Regions from separate parts of the Homo sapiens genome. Here region 2 is linked to region 1. Evidence: promoter capture Hi-C in 16 types of primary human blood cells and fetal thymus (Javierre and others, 2016). All regions are on one chromosome and are shown on one strand. Each heading gives the region's core, a stretch centred on a gene start or on the middle of the fragment in contact. The rest is flanking DNA. Distances are from core to core; before and after follow the strand shown.

What was found. Contacts are between HindIII fragments. The CHiCAGO score rates a contact against its expected background, and 5 or more counts as called.
Region 2: a fragment that was not itself captured here is called in contact with the fragment with the promoter of KCTD2 in region 1 in 11 of 17 cell types (erythroblasts, endothelial precursors, M1 macrophages and 8 more); the score reaches 10.0 in erythroblasts.

The regions. Positions count from the first base shown.
Region 1 is chr17:75,044,491-75,051,360 of GRCh38, forward strand. KCTD2 (potassium channel tetramerization domain containing 2) reads left to right here and starts at 2,735. Exons shown (of 6, transcript NM_015353.3): 1 at 2,735-3,099; 2 at 4,730-4,838. The coding sequence starts at 2,761. It overlaps ATP5PD (ATP synthase peripheral stalk subunit d), which reads right to left and starts at 2,479. Exons shown (of 6, transcript NM_006356.3): 1 at 2,435-2,479. RefSeq lists enhancers at 1,946-2,015, 1,954-2,539, 2,424-2,718 and a silencer at 2,416-2,845. The HindIII fragment of the contact is 5,200 bases long and covers 309-5,508 here.
Region 2 is chr17:75,133,735-75,140,604 of GRCh38, forward strand. JPT1 (Jupiter microtubule associated homolog 1) reads right to left here. Exons shown (of 5, transcript NM_016185.4): 5 at 1,514-2,516. The coding sequence ends at 2,368. It overlaps LOC107985034 (a long non-coding RNA gene), which reads left to right and starts at 2,516. Exons shown (of 2, transcript XR_007065907.1): 1 at 2,516-6,870. The HindIII fragment of the contact is 1,866 bases long and covers 3,362-5,227 here.

The DNA.
Region 1 (6,870 bases), core at 1,485-3,984:
CACCGCGCCCGGCCCTAATTTTTGTATTTTTAGTAGAGACAGGGTTTCTCCACGTTGGCCAGGATGGGCTGAAACTCCAGACCTCAGGTGATCCACCCACCTCAGCCTTGCAAAGTGCTGGAATTACAGGCATGAGCCACCGCGCCCGGCCTGCATTTTAAGAGGTATTCAACACATGTGAAAATGTGAGAAAAATACAGAAAACGACTACAGCCACTTAAAAAAAAAGTCAGAATATAGGAAAATAGTCCTCTTTAAGTAAGATCAGGGTCAGATATTAAAAGACTGCAAAGTCAAAAATCTCTATAAGCTTGGAGTGGAATGCAAGGGAGGCGGAAGCAGTCTTTCTCAGGATCTTCAAGAAAGTTGTCAAACACCTGTCCTGTCCTTCCTTTCTTTCTCAGGACAGCCTGTTTCCTGTTGTGGAGGGGAGGTGTTAAGGCAATTGGCATGTGATTTTAAAGTTACCAGGGAACCAAGCACCCTTACAGACTTTCCCAAACATCAGTGTATCGGGGAACTTGCCCCGATAGTCACATAGGTTCTTTTCTATTTTCCTAAGCGTCGACTGGCTTGACAGAGTACAAAAGAGAGAAATTTTAAAGCTGGGCGTCCGGGGGAGACATCACACGTTGGTAGGATCCGTGATGCCCCACAAGCCACAAAAACCAGCAAGTTTTTATTAGGGAGTTTCAAAAGGGGAGGGAGTATACGAATAGGTGTGGGTGACAGACATCAAGTACTTAACAGGGTAATAGAATATCACAAGGCAAGTGGAGGCAGGGTGAGATCACAAGACCACAGGACCAGAGCGAAATTAAAATTGCTAATGAAGTTTTGGGCACCATTGTCATTGATAACATCTTATCAGGAGACAGGGTTTTCAGATCAACCGGTCTGACCAAAATTTATTAGGTGGGAATTTCCTTTTCCTAATAAGCCTGGGATCGCTATGGGAGACTGGAGTTTATTTCACCCCTGCAGTCTCAACCATAAGAGACAGGTACGCCCCAGGGGGGCCAGTTCAGAGACCTACCCCTAGGTGCGCATTCTCTTTCTCAGGGATATCCCATGCTGAGAAAAAGAATTCAGCGATATTTCTCCCATTTGCTTTTGAAGGAAGAGAAATATGGCTCTGTTCTGCCCGGCTCACCGGCGGTCAGAGTTTAAGGTTCTCTCTTGTTCCCTGAACAATTGCTGTTATCCTGTTCTTTTTTCAGGGTGCCCACATTTCATATTGCTCAAACACACATGCTGTACAATTTTTGTAGTTAACACAATTATTACAGGGTCCTGGAACGATATACATCCTCAACTGACAGGATTAAGAGATTAAAGACAAGACAGGCATAGGAAATCAGAAGAGTATTGACTGGGGAAGTGATAAGTGTCCATGAAATCTCTACAATTTATGTTTAGAGATTGCAGTAAAGACAGGCATAAGAAATTACAAAAGTATTAATTTGGGGAACTAATAAATGTCCATAAAATCTTCACAATCCACGTTCTTCTGCCATGGTTTCAGCCGGTCTCTCTGTTTGGGGTCCCTGATTTCCCGCAACATCAGTGGAAAATGGAAGTCACAAATAACTTTGTGTGTGTGTGTGAGTGAGACGGAGTCTCGCACTGTCGCCTGGGCTGGAGTGTAGTGGCGTGGTCTCGGCTCACTGCAACCTCCGCCTCCCGGGTTCAAGCGATTCTCCTGCCTCAGCCTCCCGAGCAGCTGGGATTATAGGGGCCTTCCACCACGCCCAGCTAATTTTTTGTATTTTTAGTAGAGGCGGGGTTTCACTACGTTGGCCAGGCTGGTCTCGAACTCCTGACCTCGCGATTCGCCCGCCTTGGCCTCCTAAAATTCTGGGATTACAGGCGTGAGCCACCGCGCCCGGCGAAATTTTTTTTAATTCTTAAAAATCTATTGCTTAATCCCCAGCGCCTAGAACAGATCATGCGCATAGGAGGTGCTCAATGAATCTTTCTTGAATGAGTAACCGAACTCTGCACCCGAGGAGCCCTGAACGCTCTATACGTTCGAATCCTGGAAGCTGCCGAAGGGGAAGGGCGCAGCCCCGCAGCCAGCTGAGCGTCCCTCGGCAGGTTAACACTGTCTGCGTAATGTTTCCCCAGTCCCCCCACCAAACTATTGAAGTCTGCCGCGCTGGGAGCGGACTGCACGAGACACGGCTTGTGGCAGCGCCTACATCAGCGGCGCCTGGGACACAGCCGGGCCCCCCTGACCCCGCGCGCCAAGGAGGGCTGAGGAAGGGATCGCGGGGCGAGGAGCGGCAGCTACACAAGGGACACTCTGCCAGCGGGGCAAGCCGAGGGCCCAGCGTCCTTGACGGGGGCGTGACAAGGGTCGGCGTGAGGTTTGGAGAGGGCAGAGCAGAGGAGCCCTCCAGGGATCGGATCCAATGCCCCAAGCCCCACTCACCTTCACCGACCCTGGCTGCCCACGGTCCTCCGCAGCAAGTAACGGAAGTGGGTCACGGGAAGATCTTTCCTCAGCCAACCCCAAAGCCAAGGGGGTGGGCCTTGCTTCGCAGATCAGCCAATAGAGATGAGGGCTGGTTCCGGAAGTATCTTCCCGGGGGCGGGCACAGCGCCTCCCCCGCGCGGGTCCCCGGGCGCTGGTTGGGGGCGCTCCCGTCCCTCTCCCCTCTGCCCCACCCCCGCCGATGGGCCGGCCCGGCTCTCCCTGCCGAGAAATGGGCCGGCCCGGCTGCGCGCGGGCAGCAGCGGTGGCGGCGGCGGTCCAAGATGGCGGAACTGCAGCTGGACCCGGCGATGGCGGGGCTGGGAGGGGGCGGCGGGAGTGGGGTGGGCGACGGGGGTGGCCCAGTCCGCGGGCCCCCCAGCCCACGCCCGGCTGGCCCCACGCCCCGCGGGCACGGCCGCCCGGCTGCCGCCGTCGCGCAGCCGCTGGAGCCGGGTCCCGGACCACCCGAGCGGGCAGGGGGCGGCGGCGCGGCCCGCTGGGTCAGGCTGAACGTGGGAGGCACCTACTTCGTGACCACCAGACAGACCTTAGGCCGGGAGCCCAAGTCATTTCTCTGCCGCCTCTGCTGCCAGGAGGACCCGGAGCTGGACTCAGACAAGGTGTGCCCCGCCCTCGGGCGCGCCCCCGGGCCTTCGAACCCCCTGGTTTCTCGTAGATCGGTCCCCAGAGTCCTGAGACACGCTCCTCACAGGCAGCCCCCTCAGGCCGGGACCCCATCCTCCCCCTCCCTCCCACACTACTCGCAGGGGCCTCAGAGGGACCTCCCACTCCCCTTCTTCCATGCTGAGGCATACTCTGGCTTTCTCCCCGACCCCGCCCTTCGTTCTCTGAGACTCCTTCCCACACTGCGCCCACCTGCACCCACGAGAACGCACTCCACACCCCTTCTCCATATTCTCTGCCCCTGACATCCCACTGAGATCTGCATGAGTTTTCCCTGGCTCCTCTTCAGTCCCCCCACTGCCGGTGCCAGATGCATCCAGAACTGGGTCAGGGTTAGCTCAGGCATCCTTGTAGCTTTCTCAGACTCCCTCTCGGACCCCTCTGCCAAGTTGGGCTTCCACAGCTGCAGGAAGCGCTCCTTGTGATATCACACTGCTTTTCTATAGTCCTGGTCGCAGAACTTTTATCTGTTAACAGTCACTGGTTTAGGTCCATATTTAGATCAAATGCGTTTTTTGGAAAGAGGTTACTGTTTGCCGCTGCAAATCTAGGCTAAGACAGAAGGAAAATGAAAATTTTCCCGGGAAAATTTTGGGCAGGATGCATGGCTGCTAACCAAAGGGTTGAGAGGTGACAAGACACTTAAACCATTTCCAGTTTGAACTGTGTCAATTTCTTTTTAACTTTACGTATTCACCTTTAAGTTCTCAACTTAAAGGCACTGACCATAACTCACACCATCTTATATCCCATATAGCACTCAGCTGGTGACCTCAAAACAGAGCTGGAGTTGCGTAAACATTTGTTGTTTTCGTTTATTCCTCTTCTCTAAGAAATCTCAGATTGATGGAAACCTATCCTGCCCTAACTTTAAAGAGATTTCAAAACCCTTGCTTATAAAGGAATTATTTTTATCTACTCTATATCCTCCTTGTGGTAATAGAAGCCAGTTTCTTCTTGTTCCTTTTACTGTAAAGATGAGTAGGATTAAAGCTGCTCAGAGCCAAGTCCTGGCAGTACCGAGCTTCCTCTGGGCACAGAGCTGGGGTGTGTGAGATTACAGCTGGCAGTGCAAACTCCCACTGATGTTGGCCTTGAGCTCAGGAGCATTGCCAACTACACAGAGGTTTTCTTGGAATTAGGAATGCAGTTCAGAGGCAGTGGAAAAGTCAGAATGTCCATCTCAAGCAAAGATTTCAGTTACACAGCTACGGCATTTTCTCCCTTTCTTAATAACAAACACGCTACAGAAGAATGTTTGTCACTGTAATTATTGTCCAGGCAAAGATTGCAAATTCCAGCCAGTAAGTAAACGCCTAAATGAGTATGACTGTCTGTAACACCCTACCTAAGATGATCTTAATGTACAAGATACATAAAGCTATAGCTTTCTTACCAATAGTTTGTGACAAATGTGTAACAAAATTTGCCATCACTAAAGTCTTTTTTAGCTGATGGAATGAATTGTTGTCTTGGGGCGCTGACAAAGATGGTGAAATCCTGCCCTGCCTTTGTTTAAAATACTCCTCAAAGGTCCACAATGATACCCTTGTGTTTGGTTGGCAGGATGAGACAGGAGCCTATCTGATTGACAGGGACCCCACCTACTTTGGTCCTATCCTCAACTACCTCCGCCACGGGAAACTCATCATCACTAAGGAGTTGGCAGAAGAAGGTAAGCGCACTGTTTGCATTGGGGATTTTCAAAATGCAAGTAGAATCTTTAAAGTTGTTTTACAGATTTCAATTTTGTTTGACATTTTCATCAGGCGCATGTGCAGGTATAGTTTCAGGTTTATGAAACAGAGCAGAAACTACCAGTCTTGTCTGAGGGAGTCATGATTAAGGAAGCCTCCTTAGGCTTTGTTCAGCTTCCTGGGTGAGAAGGAAGATAGGTAGCTCCGCTTTGCAGATAACTTCAGGAGTTCTTTCCGAATCTCCAGAATTGTCACGATCCTTTTTTTACATTTGTTTGTGTGCTAGCAGTGAGTGTCTGTAGTCTGAAGAAGCAAGACATCTCTGACATTCAATTATTTATAGTTTTAATTTTGGTTTGAACTCACAGTTGTACAAAAATAATAAAGGCTTGGCCTCATTTCTTTTAAGACTCTGGCCTCATGCTTCCCTGTAAATGTTTGCAGCTGACCTAATTCATTCTCTAGTTCATTGTCAGGTGTATCATTACTTGCCTCATCTTTGTGGTTTGTAGGGCATTGGGACTATAAGTGGGTCTAGTCCACTTTCTACAAGGCTTGGCATGGTCCCACTGAAGGCATTCAGTTGTAAAGGGGACTGTCCCTAAATCCAGGGCACCCTGATCTGGGAGCTTTGGCTCTGAGTAAGAAAGCTTGTAATGGCTGTACTAGTTAATGAAGTGACTGTGAAACAACTCTGTTTCAGCTAGTAGAAAGAGGAATTGCTCTCTCTCTCTTTTTTTAAATGTCCCTTTTTAAACAATATTTCAAACGCATACAGAAGTAATGGGAATAGTACATACAGTGAATTCCTTGCATCCACTATCCAGCTTCAACAATTACCAACTCATGGGTGATCTTAATCTTATTTATTTTTCTTTTTTAATTTTTGTAAGTACCTAGTAGGTGTATATATTTATGGGGTACATGAGATTTTTCTTTTTTTTTTCTTCGCTCAGGCTGGAGTGCACTGGCACAATCTTGACTCACTGCAACCTCAGCCTCCTGGGTTCAAGCGATTCTCCTGCCTCAGCCTCCCAAGTAGCTGGGATTACAGGCGTGCACCACCATGCTTGACTAATTTTTTGTATTTTTAGTAGAGACAGGGTTTCACCATGTTGACCAGGCTGGTCTTGAACTCCTAACCTCAAGTGATCCACCTGCCTCAGCCTCCCAGAGTGCTGGGATTACAGGCCTGAGCCTCCGCGCCCGACCTGAGATGTTTGGATATAGGCATGCAGTGTGAAATAAGCACATCATGGAGAATGGGGTATCCATCCCCTCAAGCATTTATCCTTTGTGATACAAAAATTCAATTACCCTCTTTTAGTTAAGTATCTTTTCTAATGCCTTTAATTAAAAAAACTTTATTTTGAAGTAATTTAAAACTTCAAAATAAGCAAGAAAAGAGCAAGAATAACACAGAGAACTCCCTATATCCCAGATTAACCAATTTTCAATGTTATTTTTGTCATATTTGGGGTATGGGGAGATCTTTTTGTTGTTTTTTTAAGAGTCAGAGTCTATCTTATCTTGCCCAGGCTGGTCTCAAATGTCTGGCCTCACATGCTCCTCCTGCCTCAGCCTCCTGAGTAGCTGCGATTATAGGCATGAGCCATCATGCCCAGCTTTTTTTTTTTTTTTGAGACGGAGTCTTGCTCTGTTGCCCAGGCTGGAGTGCAGTGGCGCAATCTCGGCTCACTGCAAGCTCCACCTCCCAGGTTCACGTCATTCTCCTGCCTCAGCCTCCCGAGTAGCTGGGACTATAGGCGCCCACCACCACACCCAGTTAATTTTTTGTATTTTTAGTAGAGACAGGGTTTCACCATATTAGCCAGGATGGTCTCATCTCGATCTCCTGACCTTGTGATCTGCCTGCCTCAGCCTCCCAAAGTACTGGGATTACAGACATGAGCCACCGCGCCCGACCTTTTTTTTTTTTTTTTTTTTTTTTGGCGACAGAGTCTCCCTCTGTTGCCCAGGCTGGAGTGCAATGGCACTATCACAGCTCAC
Region 2 (6,870 bases), core at 3,045-5,544, 91 kb after region 1:
AGTGAGCCAAGACCACGCCACTGCACTCCAGCCTGGGCCACAGCGAGACTCCGTCTCAAACAAACAAACAAACAAAACATGTAATAGAAGCATCACACACACAAAAAAACCTGACAGGGCCGGGTGCAGTGGCTCACGCCTGTAATCCCAGCATTTTGGGAGGCCGAGGCAGGTGGATCACAAAGTCAGGAGTTCGAGACCAGCCTGACCAACATGGTGAAACCCCATCTCTACTAAAAATACAAAAACTAGCCGGGCATGGTGGGACATGCCTACAAATCCCAGCTACTCAGGAGGCCAAGGCAGGAGAATTGCTTGAACCCGGGAGACAGACGTTGCAGTGAGCCAAGATCATGCCACTGCAGTCCAGCCTGGGTGACAGAGCCAGACTCCATCTCAGAAAAAAAAAAAGCCTGACAAACCAGTCTAAGAGGGGCTCAAGTCAACATGCATATGACTCATAGATACGCAGACATTTTGGAGGCCCAGACTTGCGAGTTATCTCAAGGGGAAGCAGTCTTGGGGGCTGAGCCCTCAACTTGTGGAATCAAAGCTATCTCCAGGTAACTGATTGTCAGAATTGAATTGGAGGGCCAGGTGAGGTGGCTCATGCCTATAATCCCAGCACTTTGGGAAGTCGAGGTGGGCAGATTACTTGAGGTCAGGAGTTCGACACCAGCCTGGGCAACATGGCATAAACCCTGTCTCTACTAAAAATACAAAAATTAGCTGGGTGTGGTGGCACATGCCTGTAGTCCCAGCTACTCGGGAGGGTGAGGCAGGAGAATCGCTGGAACCCAGAAGGCAGAGGTTGCAGTGAGCAGATTGTGCCACTGCACTTCAGCCTGGGCGACAGACTGAGACACTGTCTTAAAAAAAAAAAAAAATTGGAGGACACCTAGCTGGTATCCACTGCAGAATTGCTTGCTTGCTTGCTTGCTGGTGGGGAGAAATCCCCGCATATTTAAAGTTGGAGAACTTTTTTTGAGACAGGGTCTTGCTGTCACCCAGGCTGGAGTACAGTGGTGCGATCATGGCTCACTGCAGCCTTGATCTCACAGGGTGAAGCAATCCTCCTGCCTCAGCCTCCCGACTACAGGCGTGTGCCATCACACCTGGCTATTTTTGGTAGAGACGAGGTTTCACCATGTTGCCCAGTCTTGGAGAACACTTTAAAATGTTACTGCCCAGAACAAAGGGGAGGTAGAAGAGTCTAACCTGCTCATCTTTAGAGCCTTCTTCAGAAAGAAACCCACTCCTCTCTGGGTCTTCATCTGTTTTAAGATTTTGTTTTTTAAGGAGGTCTCGCTATGTTGCCCAGGATAGTCTCAAACTCCTGGGCTCAAGCATCCTCTTGCCTTGGCTTCCCAAGTAGCTAATTACAGGCACATCTGGCTATTTAACTTCAAATGACTCCTCCAATCAGTAGGCAGGATTTATAGTGACAAAGAGAAAAGCATCTAACCAGGGAGAACACTGAAACCATCTCAAAAAGAAGACACAGTACACAGTGTTTCAAAATGTGGATATTGTTTACTTGAAGCAACAGTCCAGGATTGTGAAGTACAACACATTTTAAGGATGAGACTTTCCTTTCATGGTCAAGCACCAGCATCATGCACACAGCATCAGGTTATTTAAAACAACACGCCTGTGGGACCCCGTTCCTGGAGGAAGACCCGCTTCAGTGTGATTGCCTCCCTTGCTTCACTGCTTTTAGTTCCAGGCAGTTTCATTGTACATCCAAGCCTTCCTCTGCGTGAGAGCAAAGGCTTTGCTCATCAGCCAGCCAGTCTTGTTACTATCTGGCTACTTTTTAAGGTTAAAAAATAAAAGGCAGTTTCTTTGCTTTGCAGGCGGCAAGGCAGGAGGCGCAGGCCTCTTCATTGTTCACATGTCACAGGAGGAGGCTCTGAGCAAAGGCCACTGGCAAGTTAGGGCAACACCAAGAAGGCTCTGCGGAGAGACTCCCTGTGGGTTGGGGCCTGGCAGGAACGGTGCCTGTGGACTGTTTATGGTCTGTCCAGTTGAGGCTTGGTAAACCCAAGTAAAGTGTTAAAAACCTCAGTACAAAAGATCCTCTAACACATCTGGAACCAAATTATTTCTTCTTAAAAACACAGTACTAAGTGTCACAAAGCTTTCCCTCCAATCTACTACTAGAAAACACTCATGCCATGGCCCACAGACCCAAGAGTCAAGGACAGAGAGAAACCTGTTCTTCAAAAGAAAAAAAAAAAAGACAGCAGTACATAAAGTGCTTCTTTTTAATGAAACAAATCCAAGAGATGTACAGTCAGGCTCAAGTTGTGCAGTTCACAAGCATGGAGGAAACAGACAGAACGACAGCGTTCAGGACAGTCAGAGCTAACCCAAGACGAGGCTGGACTTGCCGCCAGGGGGATTTCTTCTGGATGGCACTGGGGCCGGGGCCACCGGGCTGGGCACAGGCGCAGCAGGCACGGGCTTCTCTTCACTCTGCCCCAGGCTGCCTGGCAAGTCTGTGTCCACATTTTCTATGAAAACAGGGAATAGAAATAATACTCATAATGACAGCCATTTCCTGTTAAGATCAAGGATCTGTTTCTCTTTTTCTTTTTTTTTTGGTTTGATGGTTGGAAACATACCTAAAAGCATAAACAAAATAATCACCCACCATGCTCCCACTCCACAGAATTAACCATTGTTCATCTTTTCCCATATTTGTTGTTTATGTTCTTTTCTAAATTACACAAATATATAAGGACATGAAGTTTTTTTTTGTTTTGTTTTGTTTTTTGACGGAGTCTCGCTGTTGCCCAGGCTGGAGTGCAATGGTGCAGTCTTGGCTCACTGCAACCTCCACTTCCCAGGTTCAAGCAATTCTCCTGCCTCAGCCTCTCTAGTAGCTGGGATTACAGGCGCCTGCCGCCATGCCCGGCTAATTCTTGTATTTTTAGTACAGATGGGGTTTCACCATCCTGGCCAAGCTGGTCTTGAATTCATGACCTTGTGATCCACCTGCCTCGGCCTCCCAAAGTGCTGGGATTACAGGCGTGAGCCACCGCGCCTGGCCCAAGGACATGAAGATTTTTAAATAAGAACAGGGAACTCTAGCTCTACGGCCCCTTCCAGCTCCGGGTGGATCCTGCTCCCCCTATTCCCAGAGGTCCCACTGCAAGTCCTGTGCAGCCTTCTAGTCCACTTGTTTTATGTATATTTACATGTAGCCAGATAACATGTAACATGTTTTGGTTATATTTAACATAAATGGTATCAACTTCTTTTTTTCACTCTTGGAAATGTATCCATATTTACAAACAGGGTAGTAATTCGCCTTGCTTATTAACTGTATGTTTTCAAATCCCTCACCTCACTGTCAAGCTTCATTGCTTTATAGTAATTATCACATGATATAGGCTATTTATCCAATTCTCTGACAGCAAAAAAACTGGAACCCATCCAATTTTCCAAATGAATTGTCTCTCATTAGGGTTGTTTCTAAACCGGGAAAAAACTGATTCAAAGTGCAAAGTGAATGCAAAAATTCTATATTTTCTATGAAAGGAAACTTTTACTAAGAGCTTAATAGTATACATATTTTTAGTTTTTTTGTTTGTTTGTTTTTTGTGGAGGGGTGGGGTGGCAGGTGGAGGATATTGAGACAGGGTCTCACTCTGTGGCCCAGGCTGGAGTGCAGTACCTCAATCACAGCCCACTGTAGCCTCAAACTCCTGGGCTCAAGCAATCCTCCTATATCAGTCTCCCAAATAGCTGGGACTACAGGCGCGCACCACCACAACTGGCTATTTTTGTTTTTTTTTTTTTTTTATTTTTAAAAGATGGGGTCTCCTTATGTTACCCAGGCTGGTCTCAAATTCCTGGACTCAAGTGATCCTCCCATCTCACCCTCCCTAAGTGCTGGGATCACAGGCATGAGCCACCTTCACCCTTCACACAGCCTAGTTTTCCTTTTTTTTTTTTTTTTTTTTTTTTTTTGAGACAGGGTCTTTAACCTCTGCCTCCTGGGTTCAAGCAATTCTCCTGCCTCAGCCTCCCGAGTAGCTGGAATTACAGGCATGCACCACCATGCCTGATTAATTTTTGTATTTTTAGTAGAGACGGGGTTTCGCCATGTTGGCCAGGCTGGTCTCAAACTCCTGGCCTCAAGTGAGCCACCTACCTTGGCCTCCCAAAGTGCTGGGATTACAGGCATTAAGCCACTGCACCCGGCCTAGTTTTCCTTTTTTTTCTTTAGTTGAGATGGAGTTTCACACATGTTGTCCAGGCTAGAGTGCAACAGTGCAATTTCGGCTCACTGCAACCTGTGCCTCCCGGGTTCAAGCAATTCTCCTGCCTCAGCATCCCAAGTAAGTAGCTGGGATTATAGGTGCCCGCTACAACGCCCGACTAATTTTTTGTATTTTTAGTAGAGACAGGGTTTCACCATGTTGGCCTGGCTGGTCTTAAACTCCTGACCTCAGGTGATCCAACCTGCCTTGGCCTCCCAAGGTGCTGGGATTACAGGCGTGAGCCTCCATACTGGGCCTTAGTTTTCTTTTTAATAGCAAGTTTATTTCAGTGTTAACCAATCAAATTCAGTTGCATATTCTAAGATATTCGTAAAAATATTTCATAGAATCCCTTTTGCCTGAAAAGGCAGTAAGGGCAGTTAATAATGCTCCTATATTAATGGATTTTTTTTTTTTTTTTGAGACTGTGTCTCATTCCATCGCCCAGACTGGAGTAAAGTAGCGTGATCCTGGCCCACCACAACCTCCGCCTCCCAGGCTCAAGCGATTCTCCTGCCTCAGCCTCCCAATAGCTGGGGTTATAGGCGCCCGCCACCATGCCCAGCTAATTTTTTGTATTTTTGTAGAGACCAGGTTTCACCATGTTGGCCAGGCTTGTCTCAACCTCCTGACCGCAAGTGATCCACCCACCTCAGCTGCCCAAAGTACTCAGATTACAGGCGTGAGCCACCATGCCCGGCCAAGAAGAGGTCTTTAACACTTACTCTCAATTCATGTACTTATCTCATGATAGGCTAGAAGCAAACAAACCTCCCTCTTCTGTGGCTGCAGTATTTCTCATTGGACAGACATTTATTTTATTTATTTATTTTTCATGCTTTGTTAATGTTAACATACTACTGCTGCTTTTAACATTTCATGAATTTCTGGAACATTCTATGGGAGTAACATAAAATGTTCTATACTATTTAACTACAAGCAAAAATAGAGTATGAAGCTTTTCAGAATGACAACTGTCACAATTATGAACTAAAACTCAGAGAGGGTCACCCATTAGTTTCCTTGGTTACATCCATTGTAAAAGAAGCAAGATCAAATGCACTGGATCAGACACACAAGTCCTACAATAAGTGTCCCTGAAATAACCTAAATATAATTGTAAATATAAAAGAAAAACAAAACTCCACATTTAAAATATTCAAGATAAAGAGAATTCGGACTGAGACAACTTGTTAGTTCAAGCAGTTTCATTTCTGCTGGTGGGACATGGCCTCCTGCTATACATACAGGATCTACTGAAGTCTTCATTCTCTCTCTGAATCCAGCAGTTAATGAACATTCTGAAGAACAAAAAATTATCTTGCAGTCCTGCCATAGTGGTTTATTTTCATAAAATCCTCTTCAGATGAATCAAGCTCAATACTACTAATCTTATATTTGTCTTACATTATTACTAGAACTGTTTTGTTTTTCACAAATACATAACATACTAATAAAGAAGAAGAAAAAAATAAAAAAGCACCTATGGAGACTAAACAAGCAGCAGTAGGCCTTACTTTAAATGTCTGTCCAGGCCAGGTGCAGTGGCTCACACCTGTAATCCCAGCACTTTGGGAGGCCAAGGCAGCTGAATAACCTGAGGTCAGGAGTTTGAGACCAGCTTGGCCAACATGGTGAAACCCCGTGTCTACAAAAGTACAAAAATTAGCTGGGCGTGTGTGCGCGCCTGTATTCACAGATACTCGGGAGGCTGAGGCAAGAGAATCACTTGAACCCGGGAGGCGGAGTTTGAAGTGAGCCAAGATCGTGCCACAGCACTCCAGCCTGGGCGACAGAGTAAGACTCCGTCTCAAAAATAAATAAATGTCTGTCCAGTCAGAAGTACTCCACCCACAGAGGAGGGAGGTTTGTTTGTTTCCAGCCCATAATGAGATAAGTACAGGAATTGAGAGTAAGTGTTCAGAAACTTTGATTTATTTTTTCAGATGGAGTCTCTCTCTCTTGCCAGGCTGGAGTGCAGTGGCGCAATCTATCTCCACCTCCCAGGTTCAAGCGATTCTCCTGCCTCAGCCTCCCAAGTAGCTGGGATTACAGGCGCGTGCCACCACGCCTGGCTAATTTTTGTATTTTTAGTAGAGACGGGCTTTCACCATGTTGGCCAGGATGGTCTTGATCTCTTGACCTCATGATCCGCACACCTCAGCCTCCCGAAGGGCTGGGATTACAGGCATGAGCCACCGCGCCCAGCCAAATGTTTAGAAACTTTTATGCCAATTTGACACAGAAAGCTTTTGTCTGCTGAAGATAATTTAAAAAAAAAAAGGGCTTTAAATGAAATTATTTCTACCAAAATATACATTTTAGACACTCCTGGTCTCTTTTCTTTGGCACATCAATAAGATAACTGAACAAAGACATCTCTATCTGAATAGAAAATGATTCATTGTAAGCATCAAAGAATCAGAACTGGAAGAAATGTAGCCGACCATCTAACTTGCCCGCAGTCAGGGAGACTTCTCTGCCTGAACTTCCTGGACCTTCTCCCTCTTAGATTTCTCAAGATGGAAACTCCAAAGTCATTCCTGTAGCCATTCCTGCGTTTAATTGCCCAAGAGGTAAAATAAATTTCCCGTATATC